Linked DNA regions of Homo sapiens: all the other regions are linked to region 1. The links are contacts of gene promoters, found by promoter capture Hi-C in human tissues and cell types (Jung and others, 2019). All regions are on one chromosome and are shown on one strand. The core of a region is centred on a gene start or on the middle of the fragment in contact, and the rest is flanking DNA. Distances in the headings are between cores, read along the strand shown. Region 1 holds the start of LUZP1 (leucine zipper protein 1). Region 2 overlaps KDM1A (lysine demethylase 1A). Region 3 overlaps KDM1A (lysine demethylase 1A).

What was found. Contacts are between HindIII fragments. The study calls those that stand out against the background at their distance.
Region 2: a fragment that was not itself captured here is called in contact with the fragment with the promoter of LUZP1 in region 1 in 2 of the 25 tissues and cell types used here (H1 embryonic stem cells and mesenchymal stem cells).
Region 3: a contact is called between a fragment that was not itself captured here and the fragment with the promoter of LUZP1 in region 1, in 10 of the 25 tissues and cell types used here (H1 embryonic stem cells, IMR-90 fibroblasts, adrenal gland and 7 more).

The regions. Positions count from the first base shown.
Region 1 is chr1:23,166,853-23,171,435 of GRCh38, forward strand. It overlaps LUZP1 (leucine zipper protein 1), which reads right to left and starts at 2,004. Exons shown (of 4, transcript NM_001395462.2): 1 at 1,914-2,004. RefSeq lists enhancers at 710-1,241, 1,242-1,773, 2,849-2,898 and silencers at 1,013-1,152, 2,144-2,203. The HindIII fragment of the contact is 15,099 bases long and covers 1,796-4,583 here.
Region 2 is chr1:23,054,971-23,059,553 of GRCh38, forward strand. It overlaps KDM1A (lysine demethylase 1A), which reads left to right. Exons shown (of 21, transcript NM_001009999.3): 6 at 99-191; 7 at 962-1,068; 8 at 2,514-2,595; 9 at 4,103-4,197. Among named protein-coding and RNA genes, the nearest start is that of MIR3115, 13 kb to the left of the region's middle. The HindIII fragment of the contact is 3,104 bases long and covers 611-3,714 here.
Region 3 is chr1:23,073,678-23,078,260 of GRCh38, forward strand. It overlaps KDM1A (lysine demethylase 1A), which reads left to right. Exons shown (of 21, transcript NM_001009999.3): 16 at 3,551-3,683. Among named protein-coding and RNA genes, the nearest start is that of MIR3115, 32 kb to the left of the region's middle. The HindIII fragment of the contact is 6,172 bases long and covers 1-4,583 here.

The DNA of each region.
Region 1 (4,583 bases), core at 754-3,253:
CGCATTATTAATCACTGGTCAACAATGAACCTGTGTTTGCTGCCTTCTTCATACTCCAACCCATTCCCTTCCCAGCTCACTATTTCCAGCTTTTCAAACTTTAGTTACTATGTTTAGAAAAGTGATTTAATTTTAGAAACCTGGAAAATTCTTCTAGGAGTAAATTCTTCTAGGAGTAAATTGAGCAAAACCTTAATCTGCCCCCAGGGGAATTCTGAGCAAAACAATTATTTCTGACAAAAGAAGAATTTTCTATGGGGGTAATTCAATTTAACCACATGAATACTACCAAAGTTGCAAACAAGGTGACAGAAGGCAATCTGGAACACACCTTCCAGATTCCCCAAAAAGAAATGTCCTCCTAAAATCCAAACCCCTCCCTCCCTAATTTGAGGTAGTCAAATCTTATTAGGTGATCTGAATTCTCCCGGCTCTGACACCAGTCCAGCTCCTTAGGCCAGAACTGCAGCCGTCTGTAAAAGAAATACCCTGAGCAAACCCCACCCCTCAAAACATCCCCAAAAGGCAGGGAGGTCCAGAGAGTATTTTCTCCTCCAACGACAGATAAGGCACCAAGGGCTCAGCAGCGCAATCCTTCTCCCAAGGTCATTCAAGTCAGTGAAGGTGCGACGGTGGAGCTGCAGGCAGTCTGGCCTTCTGGAAATCACACTACAGGGGTTTTGGGGGTGCCTACTCTCTTCCCCTCTCCCACCCGCAAGGGTGAGCACTGGCCTCGGCATTCCCGAAACAAGCCACAACAAGCTCTGCAGTGTTAGGAAAGGGGTTGACGCGATGAAGAAACAGATGCTCCAAAGCAAGATGGTCTTTCTCGGCTCACAGAGGCTCCTCCAAGGTTATGCACAGAAACCGCAGCCACCTCCAAGAGCTCTAAACCGGGCTCCGAAGCCCCAGCGCGGCCGCTGCGGGTCGCCAGGTTCCCTGCAGGCAGGCTCCGCAGCCAGAGGCCACCAGCCCCAGAAACCGCACTTCATTCCTGCGCTCCGGGAAGCCATGGCTCCTTCCCTGCCCGGGCGGCTGGGCGGGGGCCGGGGGTGCGCCGGGAGGCGGGCCCCGCGCTGCGGAAAGTTCACCGCGGCGGGCGGGGGGAGGCCCCGGCCCCGCTCGCCGGCGTCCCCCTGCAGATTCCACCATTAATTAGTCCTAAGGACTGTCTACTGGCAACTTAAACAAAGCGAATGCCTCGAATTCCTTCCCGGCCCAGCGGTCTGGCTGCGAGACCAGCAGAGCGCCCGGGACGCGGGCCGGCGCGGCCGACAGCTGCGGCGGCCGCGGGACCCCTCCCCGCCCGGCCCGCGGCCCGCGCCCCGCGCCCGCAGCTGGCCCCGCACGCCGGCCCGACGCGCTCCCAAACCGCCCTCCTCCTCCTGCTGCTGCAGCTCCCGGGCCCTTCCTGTCTGATCACTTCCTTCCTCCGGTGCCCGCCGGGCCCCGCGCAGCCCCCTCCACGGCCGCCTCGTCGCCCCCCGCCCCTGTCGGCCCGCGCCCCCTCCCCCAACCCCAAACTCTACCCCCGAAACTCTTCGCCGCCCCCTCGAAAATGTCTCCTCCGCGTCTCTGCCCCAAACATTTCTCCTCAGAGTCTCGCTCCCACCAAGAAGTCTCCTCAGAACCTTCCCTCCCCCTCCCGAGGAAAAATCTCCTCAGAGTCTCTTCCTCCAACTCCACAAACATGTGCTGGGTCTCGCCCCAAAAGGTCTCCTCCTGAGCCCTTCCTCCAAAATCCATTCCAACTCTCCCCCAACTCCACACCCCATCTCTCCTCGGCTGCGCCCGCGGTTTCTTCTGCCCCGTGGCCGCGGGTGCCCCGACCTCACCCGGGACCGGCCTCCCAACCCCGCCGCCCTCCCCTCCCCGCGCCGCGCTCCCGCCGCCGCCGCCTCACGGACCCTCACCTCTGCGGCCCCGAACCGCGCTCCCGCCAGCGAAGGGTTCCGCCGCTCAGCTGCCAGCGACCGGCGCCTCCTCTGGCTCCGCGGGACTGACAATGAGGGGCGGGGCCAAATTGTGACGTCAGCGTTCTGGAAGGCGGGGTCTTTGTGATGGGCGGGGTTGTCTGTAGGCCCCGCCCCCTCCGTCCTTTTTTTCCCTTCCCAGGACTTAGACTCCACCAAGTTTTTATTGCCTCCGTAGCTGGGTCCTGTGCTAGGCGCCCTGGGAAATCGAAATGGAAGACAAGACTTCTCGATTTCAGGAGGGACACTTTCGGCCCGCGTGGTGGCTCAAGTCTGTAATCCCAGAACTTTGGGAGGCTGAGGCGGACGGATCGCTTAAACTCAGAAGTTCGAGACCAGCCTGGGCAACATGGCGAAACCCCATCTCTATAAAAAATACAAAAATTAGCCGGGAGTGGTGGCGCCCGCCGGTAAGCTAAAGTAGGAGGATCGCTTGAGCCGAGGGAGGTCGAGGCTGCAGTGAGCCGTGATCGTGCCACTGCACTCCGGCGTGGGTGACAGAGTGAGACCCTGTCTCAAAAGAAAAAGAAAAAAGCGGGACACTCTCAGTAGGGTTGTGAGGATTAAATGAGATAATCAATGGAAAGGTGCTTAGCCTAGAACCTGATATGGAATAATCACTCAACAAATCCTATTTCTATTACTCTGCAAATGCAGAGAAGGAACTCAGCTCAGACTCGGGAGGCATGGGTTCCCGTCCCCCACTGTGCTATTAATTCTTTGTGTGATGCTAGACAAGTACTTTCCCATCTATGTTCCCGATTTTCATCTTCTTTAAAATGGGAAGGGGGAATAACCAGATGATCTCAAAATCCCCTCCCATACTTCTATGACATACTTCCTTTAAGTCTACTATCTAAAAGGCACCTAGTGCCCTGAGAAGCCAGGAGGAAGGCTTCAAAGACAGCCCAAGACCCACACCCAGCATAGTACAGGACACAGCCAGAGACTGCTCTCGCTGCGGATGCCCTCCCACACGCTGGCACGCAGCAGCATTCACAAGCCAGGACACAGATGGGCTGAGGGCTGCTTCCTCTCTGACTACAGCAGCATGGTTGGTCTCTTGAGACATCTCTTGTGTAAGCTCTTTATTGCCTATGGAATAAAGGCCAAAGCCCTGGCCTGGTATGATCACTTCCTACCTTTACACACACACACACACACACACACACACAAAGTTTATCCAAACTTCTCTTAGCACACCCACTGCTTTCCCACATTTGACCCTTTGCTGAAGCTCTTCCCCTGCTGTCTCACCTCCCAGCTTCTCCCAGCCAGAAAGCAATCCTCCCTGTTCTGAATAACCAATAACATTGTGTTTAACCCTCACGTGGGCATGAACACTACAACTTATAAAGAACTGACCTCCCATTTGTTTCTTAGCACTTCCTGGAGGTCAGAACCCACACATGTTTGTGGAGCTCAAGCTCTGATGCCAGAAAACCCTGGGATCATATGTTCTGGGGTCATAATAGCCATCTCTGAGCCTGTCTTCTCATCTATAAAATGGGGATAATAATATAGTCTTGTGGTGTTTGTTTTAAAATTACCTAAGATACTGTATGGAAAACATCAGGCACAGTGTTCCACAAACAATATGAACAATATGATTGTCATTCTTATTTTCTTTTTCTTTCTTTTTTTTTTTTTTTTTTTTTGAGACGAATTTTCTCTCTTGTCGCCCAGGCTGGAGTGCAGTGGCACGATCTCAGTTCACTGCAACCTCTGCCTTCCAGGTTCAAGAGATTCTCCTGCCTCAGCCTCCCAAGTAGCTGGGATTACCGGCACTTGCCACCACACCTGGCTAATTTTTGTATTTTTAGTAGAGACGGTGTTTCACCATGTTGGCCACGCTGGTCTCGAACTCCTGACCTCAGGTGATCCACTCACCTTGGCCTCCGTAAGTGCTAGGATTACAGACGTGAGCCACCACATCAGGCCCCTGTCATTCTTATTTTCAGTAGTATTATATTGACCAGGCGCGGTTGCTCATGCCTGCAATCCCACCACTTTGGGAGGATCACTTGAGTCCAGGGGGATGGATCACTTGAGTCCAGGAGTTTGAGACCAGCCTGGGCAACATGGCAAAACCCCGTCTTTACAAAAAATACTAAAAATTAGCCAGGCCTGGTGGTGCCCGTGCAGTCTCAGCTACTCAGGAGGCTGTGGTGGGAGGATCCCTTGAACCTGGGAGGTGGAGGCTGCAATAAGCCATGATAATGCCACCGCACTACAGCCTGGTGACAGATCGAGACCCTGTCTCAAAAAAAAAAAATATATATATATATATATAATTACTGTATGATTTATATATGTATTTTTATATATAACTACTATAATCAGTATTATTTCTAGTTATTAACACCACACAGCACCTCATAACAATCCACCTAATCATTTCATATGGAAGACTTTAGGGTCTTGAGAAAGGAAGAGGCTTGCTGAAAGTGGCCCTGCAAAGCATTCCCATTGGAATGGAAACCAGCACTCCAGTCTGCAGACCCCAGATGGATTCAGCAGAGTCACATCTGATGATGCCCCAGGGCATCTCTGCCATTCAGCATGCCTCCAAGCTGGGGTCAGCGTGTAGTTCTCTCTGAGAGTTCTTTG
Region 2 (4,583 bases), core at 913-3,412, 110 kb before region 1:
GGTTTTAAGGACTTCATGATGGAGAAATGGAAGAGTTAGAAGAATATTGTTTAAACTGCTGAAAATAAAACCGTGTTTTTAATCCACTTATTCTGTAGGTGATACTGTGCTTGTCCACCGAGTTCACAGTTATTTAGAGCGTCATGGTCTTATCAACTTCGGCATCTATAAGAGGATAAAACCCCTACCAAGTAAGGACCTCCTACCTGGCTGATAAATTTTACATTTTTAAGTTACGGTTTCAGGACTGTATTTTATATCTATGATGACGTTAGGATTTTATTTTGATTCATAAGACTATATTTAAAAATATTTCCAAGTTTATCTTCTTAAAGTCAAGTTAAATATAATAAATAAATAATAAAAAATATAGTCTCTTAATAAATGTGCATTTCCCTTAATTTCTAGTTTGATAGCTACTTAGTAAAAGATACTGGATTTCCAATTTAAAAAAAAGAATAAAACAGTACAATTTGTTAAAAATGAGAGGAGTTCATTCTGAGGTTTTTCTCTCATTGACCCATTCTTTATGTTGTCAATAGTTGATTTTTTAATGCTTTAATCATTTTTTCAAAAGGAGACTTAAGACTACAAGGTTAGAGGTTAAGGGAAATAGCTTATATGCAGAATGTGTCCTAATGTAATTATGAAGTAAATGAAGCAGATTATTAACAAATTAACTAAGAATCACAGATACTGAAACACATGCCTGAGGTAATGAGAAAATAAATCTTAAGATAGTGGATTTGATTTATAAATGTTCGACACTGAATTTGAATTCATAAGTTTCAGATATTTGTTAATTTATTTTCAGGTAGTTTCCATATTTTGAAAATAACTCTCTGTATTTTTTACTTTGTAAGCTATTATGTTAAGAACCTAGAGGTTTTCATGAAATAAGACTGTAAGTACAAACTTTTATACCTAAAACAAAATCTTTTTTTTCATTTTTTGCTTTTAGCTAAAAAGACAGGAAAGGTAATTATTATAGGCTCTGGGGTCTCAGGCTTGGCAGCAGCTCGACAGTTACAAAGTTTTGGAATGGATGTCACACTTTTGGAAGCCAGGGTAAGAATTTCATTTTGAGTTTAGAGGCTTGACCTATTGGAAATATGGTAAGCAAATTATCTGTTGCAAATTAAAGAATTATACAACTTGAACTAAGCTAAATTGATTTGTATAATACTCAGAGTATTTTGGATAGTGTTATTTATATTTTTAAAAAGCTTTTTTTTTTAATGAATGCTTTGAAAAGTACTCTGTGAAGAGGGTTTTAGAGTATTTCTTTTCCTGACTGATATTTTCAGATCATTATTTCTTGTAGTTAGCTCTCAAATTTGGGGCCTTCATGGACATATCCTTTGTTAGGAGGCAGTTATTTTTGATGGTGGAACAGAGTGAATTCCCTGTTTTTGATAAAGAAAAAAAGCTGCTTCTCAGGCAGGAACCATCTTTTAGAAGCCAAGATACTGGTTTTTTTCCTGTTAGTCCTAGAGAGAGAAATGGAAACAGGAGGAGCAATAAGGGATAATGGCACACAGTAGGAAAAAGAGCATCATATTAGGATGCTACTATTCAAGCTATTTTCATGAATAATTTTTGAAATCTAATGATCTTCTAATGGCTTTGAACTGCTAATTTTTTAAAAGAGTATGGGGAAATTGAAATTAAATATTTTCCTGATATACTATTATTAAAAATTTTATATATTTAGAAAACATCTTTGTGCACTTTGTACATTTTGTATTAAAAAATACAATAAGGAATAATAGGACCATTTTGATTCCTACCCATGAGGAGTTTGTAATCTAGTATGTAGGTTTTTGTTTTGTTTGCATTTTTGTTTGTTTGTTTGGAGTTCCAGAGTACTCTTACATTATTTATAATCATTAAATTATCGCTACAACTCAGCCATACTTGAAAATCCCTCGTCAGCAGTGATAAACCTGGGCCTATTTAGGGATAAAAGGTATTGTGAACAGGCTATGTTCAGTATGGACTCTCTGCCCCTGGGCATGGGGGTGCACTGGAGAACCATTTGTCAGAAAAATTATCCATCAGATTTTTCCCCGCTAACTTTGGGGATCAGGGTGTAAGAGTCAGATTACAGTGGTAGAAAGTTGGTGTTTAAATAGTGTTGGGATTTGTGAACAAATATTTTCTATATGGGTGGCCCTGTACATTAAAAGGTATTATAGACAACTGGATAGAGTGGTACCTGTGACTAAATTTATCTTCCAGCTGTCAAGACTGTTTTATATCACATCATTTAATTCTGTGTCGTTTAGTTATATGACATTTAATTATATGTCATTTGTTGCCTGCTTCTCCTTCAAATAGTCTTCAAGTTAAACTTCATTTGTTCTTTGTGCCCATAGTACTGTTGATTGCATTCCATGTAAACTCTACATCTTTATTTTTAAATTATAGAAGACAGAGCCGTGGTATGGTACTATGCCAGGTTTGTGGTTAAAACAGAATTGATGATTTTGGCTACTTAATTTCTGAAACAGGATCGTGTGGGTGGACGAGTTGCCACATTTCGCAAAGGAAACTATGTAGCTGATCTTGGAGCCATGGTGGTAACAGGTCTTGGTAAGTAGCTATTGGTTTGTGCTATATAGTACATGGTCTAAGACTCATAAAAGAAATTTAAAGCCAGAGATGCTATTTTAAAATGTATTGGTTTAGAATAGTCATCTTCCGTTTAGTGAGAGGTATAGCAGTATGTGGAAAATGTAAATTGTACATATCTTTTGACCTAGAGTACCTTTTTCTAGTTCTAGGAAATTATCATATGAAGATAAGTAGATAATGTTGTGTTTGAAGCTTTTTTTTTTTTTTTTTTTGTGAGACAGAGTCTCGCTCTGTCACCCAGGCTGGAGTGCAGTGGCGTGACCTCCACTCACTGCAGTCTCCTCCCTCAGCCTCCCGAGTAGCTAAGACTACAGGCACACACCACCATACCCAGCTAATTTTTTGTATTTTAGTAGAGGCGAGGTTTCACTATGTTGGCCAGGATGGTCTCGATCTCCTGATCTCATGATTAACGTGGCATTGTTTTTGTTTGTTTCGAGACATGGTCTCGCTCTTTTGCCCAGGCTGGATTGCAGTGGCATGATCTCAGCTCACTGCAACCTTTGCCTTCCATGCTCAAAGGATCCTCTCACCTCAGCCTCCCTAATAGCTTGGAGTACAGGCATGGGCCACCATGCTTGGTTAATTTTTAATTCTTTGTAGAGATGAGGTCTCACTATATTGCCAGGCTGATCTGAATTCCTGGGCTCAAGCAGTGCTCCCAAAGTGCTGGAATTACAGCACTGGTCTCAAACTCCTGACCTCAGGTGATCCACCCACCTCGGCCTCCCAAAGTGCTAGGATTACCAGCATGAGCCACCATGTATGGCTTAAACTAGCTTTTGAACAAGCTTATAGGACAAGTACAAAGAACCCCACTAATTTATGCTTGTAATTACAAATACGTTTCATGGCTTTAGAAATCTAAAGAGATAGGTTAGTAGCTTTATGAGCCACAACGCCCGGCCTTGTTTGTTTTTAATAGAAACAGGGTCTTGCTCTGTTGCCCAGGCTGATGTTGAACTCCTGGCCTCAAGAGATTCTTCTGCCTTAGCCTTCCAGAAGGTTGAGGTTGTGGGCATTAGCCAGCTTGCCCATCCCTGGTATTGTTTTTCATAGCAGAACATTAGAAACCACAGATTAGAATATTATACGATGAGAAATATACAGCCACTAAAAATCATGTAGCTCCGTATTAGCGTAAAACGATGTCCACAATATATTGCTAAGTTGAAAAGATATTATAAAACAATACGTATTATGATACTTTTTTGTGTGGGTCTGTAATTTTATACACTTAAAATCTAGAAGAATCTGTAATGTTAATTAGTGGGATTATAGGTAATTTTTTTGCCTTCATGTTTGTCTTACATATTTTTACTTAGAGTGCTTTTTTTTTTGAGAAATAATTACATACTGTAAGCTTTTGAGCTTTTTATATTTTGAGTAAAAATATTTTTTACTTTAAGGTTTTTGTTCTCTCTTCATAGGTCTATTGAATTTAATTGCTTGAGTTTTTTTCTAGGAGGGAATCCTATGGCTGTGGTCAGCAAACAAGTAAATATGGAACTGGCCAAGATCAAGCAAAAATGCCCACTTTATGAAGCCAACGGACAAGCTGTAAGTCGAGGACAAACAGAACTTTCAACATTTCTTTGGTTCACTTGAAAACAATTTTAGGAGAATGGTATGGATGAGCATATACATATATACACATATAGAGGTGTATATATATATAAACTGAGGGTAGAGATGATGTGATGTTATTCTGGTTGTTTCTTAACTCTTGAGCTATGTAGGAAAGGATTATTGTATATATACACATTTACCTGTCTGTTTAACATTTATCTTTAGATATTTAATGAAGGCTAGCTAGACAGTTAATCTTTTTATTTGGCTGTGGCCACTTACTCCAAGGGACTTATGGAATTGAAACCTGATTCTTCGGTTTTTTTTGTATTGTGCCTTCCATCACGTGCTTTAGCTCCATGTGTTCTTTATGACTT
Region 3 (4,583 bases), core at 547-3,046, 93 kb before region 1:
GACAACCACTGATTTGCGTTATCACTGTAATTTTGTTTATTCTACAGTTTCATATAAAGTGAATCATACAGTACATAGCTTTTTGTGTGTGATATATTTCACTTAGTATAGTTTTTGAGATGTGCATGAAGTTTTTGAGATTCATCTTTTTTGCCTGTATCAGTAGTTTGTTCCTTTTAATTATTTAATAGAATTCCATTGTGTGGATATACCACTGGTGCCTTAATGGGCATTTGGGTTGTTTCCCTTTTTTGACTGCTAATGAACGAAGCTGCTTAAGAATGTTCATGTCTTTCTCTTGAGTAAATATTTATGAATGGAATTGCTGGGTACTATGGAAAGTGGATTTTTAACTTTATAAATCAACTTCCAAACTATTTTCCAAATTGCCTTCCCATCAGCAATGTATGAAAATTCCATTTTCTCCAAATCCTCACCAATCTTGGTAATGCCAGTTTTTAAAATGTCAGCCATTCTAATAGGTATAGTAGTATTTGCATTTCCCTGATGACTAGTGATGTAGAGCAACTCTTCCTGAGCTTATGAGCCATTCATATGTCATCTTTGAGTAAATGTCTGCTCAGATCTTTTGCCTATTAAAAAAGTCTGATTGTCTGCTTGTTGATGAGTTTGAAGTTTATTATGTTCTTTAAATTCTAGGCAGAAGTCCTTTGTCAGATTTATGTTTTACAAATATTTATTTCCTTGTCATCTGTGGCTTGTCTTTAATTTTCTAAATCTGTCTCAAAGAGTAAAAGTTTTTACTTTAATTTTTTTCTTTTGAGACAAGGTCTTGCTTTGTTGCCCAGGCTGGAGTGGTGTGATCATGGCTCCCTTGCAGCCTTTACCTCCTGGGCTCAAGTGATCTTCCTGCCTTGGACTCCCATTCCTATTTATAAAATTTTTCTTTTAAACCATGTTCTTTTTCTATCTTGAAAAGAATCTTTGTCTTACCTGTGGTCACAAAGATGTTATCCTGTGTTCTCCTGCAGAAATTGTATGGGTTTAGCTCTTATGTTTAGGTCTATACTCCATTTTGTGTTAATTTTTATGTTTAAGGAAAGGTAAGTGAAGGGTTCATGTTTTTCCATATAGTTATGTAATTATTATTCCAGCACTATCCTTTTCTTCATTTGTCTTGGCACCTTTGTTGAAAATTAATTGGCATGTAAGCATGAGTATTTAGGGTTGTCTTTTCTGTTAATTTATCTGTCTATCCATATGCCACTATCATACTGTCTTGTAAGTTCTCCAACTTTGTTCATTTTTGAAATTGTTTTGGCTATTTTAAGGTACGTATTTCCATAACAGTTTTAGAATCAACTTGTCAATTTCTACAAAAATCACCTTCTGGGATTTTGATTAGGAGTGCATTAAATTTCTAGGTCAATTTAGGGTGAATTGCCATCTTAACAATATTGAATATTCTTATCCTTAAATACAGTATACTTCTCCAAAAATAGTTTTCTTTCGTTTATGTCAGTGATGTTTTATAGTTCTCAGTGAGCAGGGCTATACCATCTTTTCTTAAATTTCAGTGTGATTTACTCTTCAAGTGAGAAATCACAAGGCTTCTTGGACCAATCTCTAAATCTGAGACTTTGGCCAGAATTAAGACTGTATAGGCTGGGTACGGTGGCTCACGCCTTTTTAAACCCAGCACTTTGGGAGGCCAGAGCAGGAGGATCAATTGAGTCAGGAGTTCAAGACCAGCCTGGCCCTGTCTCTACTAAAAATACAAAAATTAGCCGGGCATGGTGGCGGGCACCTGTAATCCCAGCTACTTGGGAGGCTGAGGCACGAGAATTGCCTGAACCCAGGAGGCAGAGGCTGCAGTGAGCGGAGATCGCGCCATTGCACTCCAGCCTGGGCAACAGAGCAAGACTCCATCTCAAAAAAAAAAAAAATGTATAGAAGTAAATTATTAAATTTTTATTTATATATTTTAGTTTACATTATACATTTTCCTAATAAAAATTATTTTGACAGGCTGGGCATGGTGGCTCATGCCTGTAATCCCAGCACTTTGGGAGGCCAAGGCAGGCGGATCACCTCAGGTCAGGAGTTCGAGACCAGCCTGGCCAACATGGTGAAACCCCATCTCTACTAAAAATACAAAATTAGCCTGGCGTGGTGGCGCATGCCTGTAGTCTCAGCTGCTTGGGAGACTGAGGCAAGAGAATCGCTTGAACCCAGGAGGCGGAGGTTGCAGTGAGCCGAGATCACGCCACTGCACTGCAGCCTGGGCAACAAGAGCAAAACTCCATCTCAAAAAAAAAATTATTTTGACTTCTTAATCTTTAGATTATAATCTGATAGTTTTAGTATTTGAAGAGTTGGACTTGTTAGAGATAAAGTCTTGCAGAACTACCAGTTCCTTTGTGGTTTTTCATGTAAATACTAACTTAGGCCCTTCTAGTCATTGATTTATCATTTGATGTTTCAATATGTGTCTATTTGTAATAGTATTAAATTTTAAATGAGTGATTTCAGCTGAAGTAGAGTGTTGCTGCCAGCCCAGTATTTTGATCTAATTTCCCCAAGAATTTCATGAAATTAGAAATCCTTACCAGCTTACAAAAAAAATGTTACATAGAAAAATTTTCAGTAAATTCAAAGAAGTAAGATCATTTTGGGGATCTTTAAATTCCTGGTCAATTCCTGACTTTTTTTTTACTGTATGGACTGTCTTGGGCCACTCTTTATGGTCCTAGATTACCTTCATCTAGTTTGACTGACTTAGTTTTGGAAATCTTCCTCAACTTCAAACCTGTAAATTTAAAGAATAAAAACTGATTTTGCTCTCAGGTAAAAGAAAATGTAATCAGGACTGTGACCCTGATATCCTTCAAGTCTGTAATGTATTCAAAAGCCAGATAAATAAACTTGAATGATGTTTAATCATCTGAATTTCCTGAATCATCATTCCCCCTACCACCTCCCTACCCTAACCACCATAGAAGATCCGGACTTAGTGGTATTGGACTGGAATGATAAAAACTATCCAGGGAAGGCCGAGCGTGGTGGCTCATGCCTGTAATACCAGCACTTTAGGAGGCTGAGGTGGGTGGGTCAGGAGTTTGAGACCAGCCTAGCCAACGTGGTGAAACCCCGTCTCTACTAAAAATACAAAAACTAGCGGGGTGTGGTGGTACATGCCTGTAATCCCAGCAGTTACTTGGGAGGCTGAGGCAAGAGAATCACTTGAACCCAGGAGTCCGAGGTTGCAATGAGCCGAGAGCACGCCACTGCACTCCAGCCTGGATGACAAAGCAAGACTCTGTATCAAAAAAAAAAAAAAATCCAGGGACAAAAGAAACTTCCCTAATCTCACTACCCGAAGATTTAGGGACATTTTTTGGTGTTTTCTCTTTTTCCTTCAGTTTCCTTTGGTAACTGTAGCTAAATACTGAGTGATTTGTTCTTTAGTTTGCCTTAAAATATTGACTGTTTCCACAAGCTTGTGTTTTCATTGTTGTTGTACAGAACTAGGTGCAAATGACACAGATTAATAAAAGGTTGGAAATATGTTCTTTTCTCTCCTCTTTAGGATGATGACTTTGAGTTCACTGGCAGCCACCTGACAGTAAGGAATGGCTACTCGTGTGTGCCTGTGGCTTTAGCAGAAGGCCTAGACATTAAACTGAATACAGCAGTGCGACAGGTTCGCTACACGGCTTCAGGTATGTCACTGCTTTACAAAAGGTAAGAGAGAACTCTCCTGAAACAGGACTGATCTTTTGTTAGGTGCGACCTATCAGGTACATTTCCTGATAGAGTGTTTATGACACCATAGGTAAAAATTGGCATTTATAGACAGTTGAGCCTATAGAGTCTTTGGTGGTTCTAACCCTATCATTTTATAAACTGGGAAATCGAAGCAAGTTTTAGAGTTTCCAATTTGTGCATGAGCTAGTTGGATATTACTGGTCGAGCATCCCTAATCTGAAAATCTGAAATCTCTAATGCCCCAGTGAGCATTTCCTTTGAGCACCATGTCAGTGCTCAAAAAGTTTTCCATTTTGGTGACCCAGTGAGTTTGGATCTAGTTTTGTTAAGTATATTCATAAATACCAGGATTTTGGCCCCTGGGCTCCACTAGGACCCACCCCTTATATTTCACCATCCGCATTTTGGTCTTTGGATTCATTTTGGCTTTTTCTATGCATTTGGGCTAATTCGCTTACGTTTGGTTCCTAGTTCTGGAGCAGTCCTGCTAATAAGTTGACTTCTTCAGAGATAGAGTTTCCCTGTGCTTGCTATGGGGATAGGCTCAATGCTCATTATTATTGCTGGTTTCAGGCTACATTTGATGTAAAGTGCAGACAACTGTTGGATTTTGAACTCCTCAAGATAACTAGTCATCTCCCTCTCTGAGAACCCATGTATGACTATGTAGGCATGAGAAATGGAGACATAGCCATCAATCTTACCCTGCGCTGCCCCTTTCCTTGGAGTTACTGAGATCACCACAGATGTTTTGGTTTTTTACTAACAATCAGTGAAACAGTTTTCCATTTAATTTTCCCATCAGAGGCAGCTTGTAGTTGACAGTGCTGAGAAGATCTGCAGCCTTGAGCCTT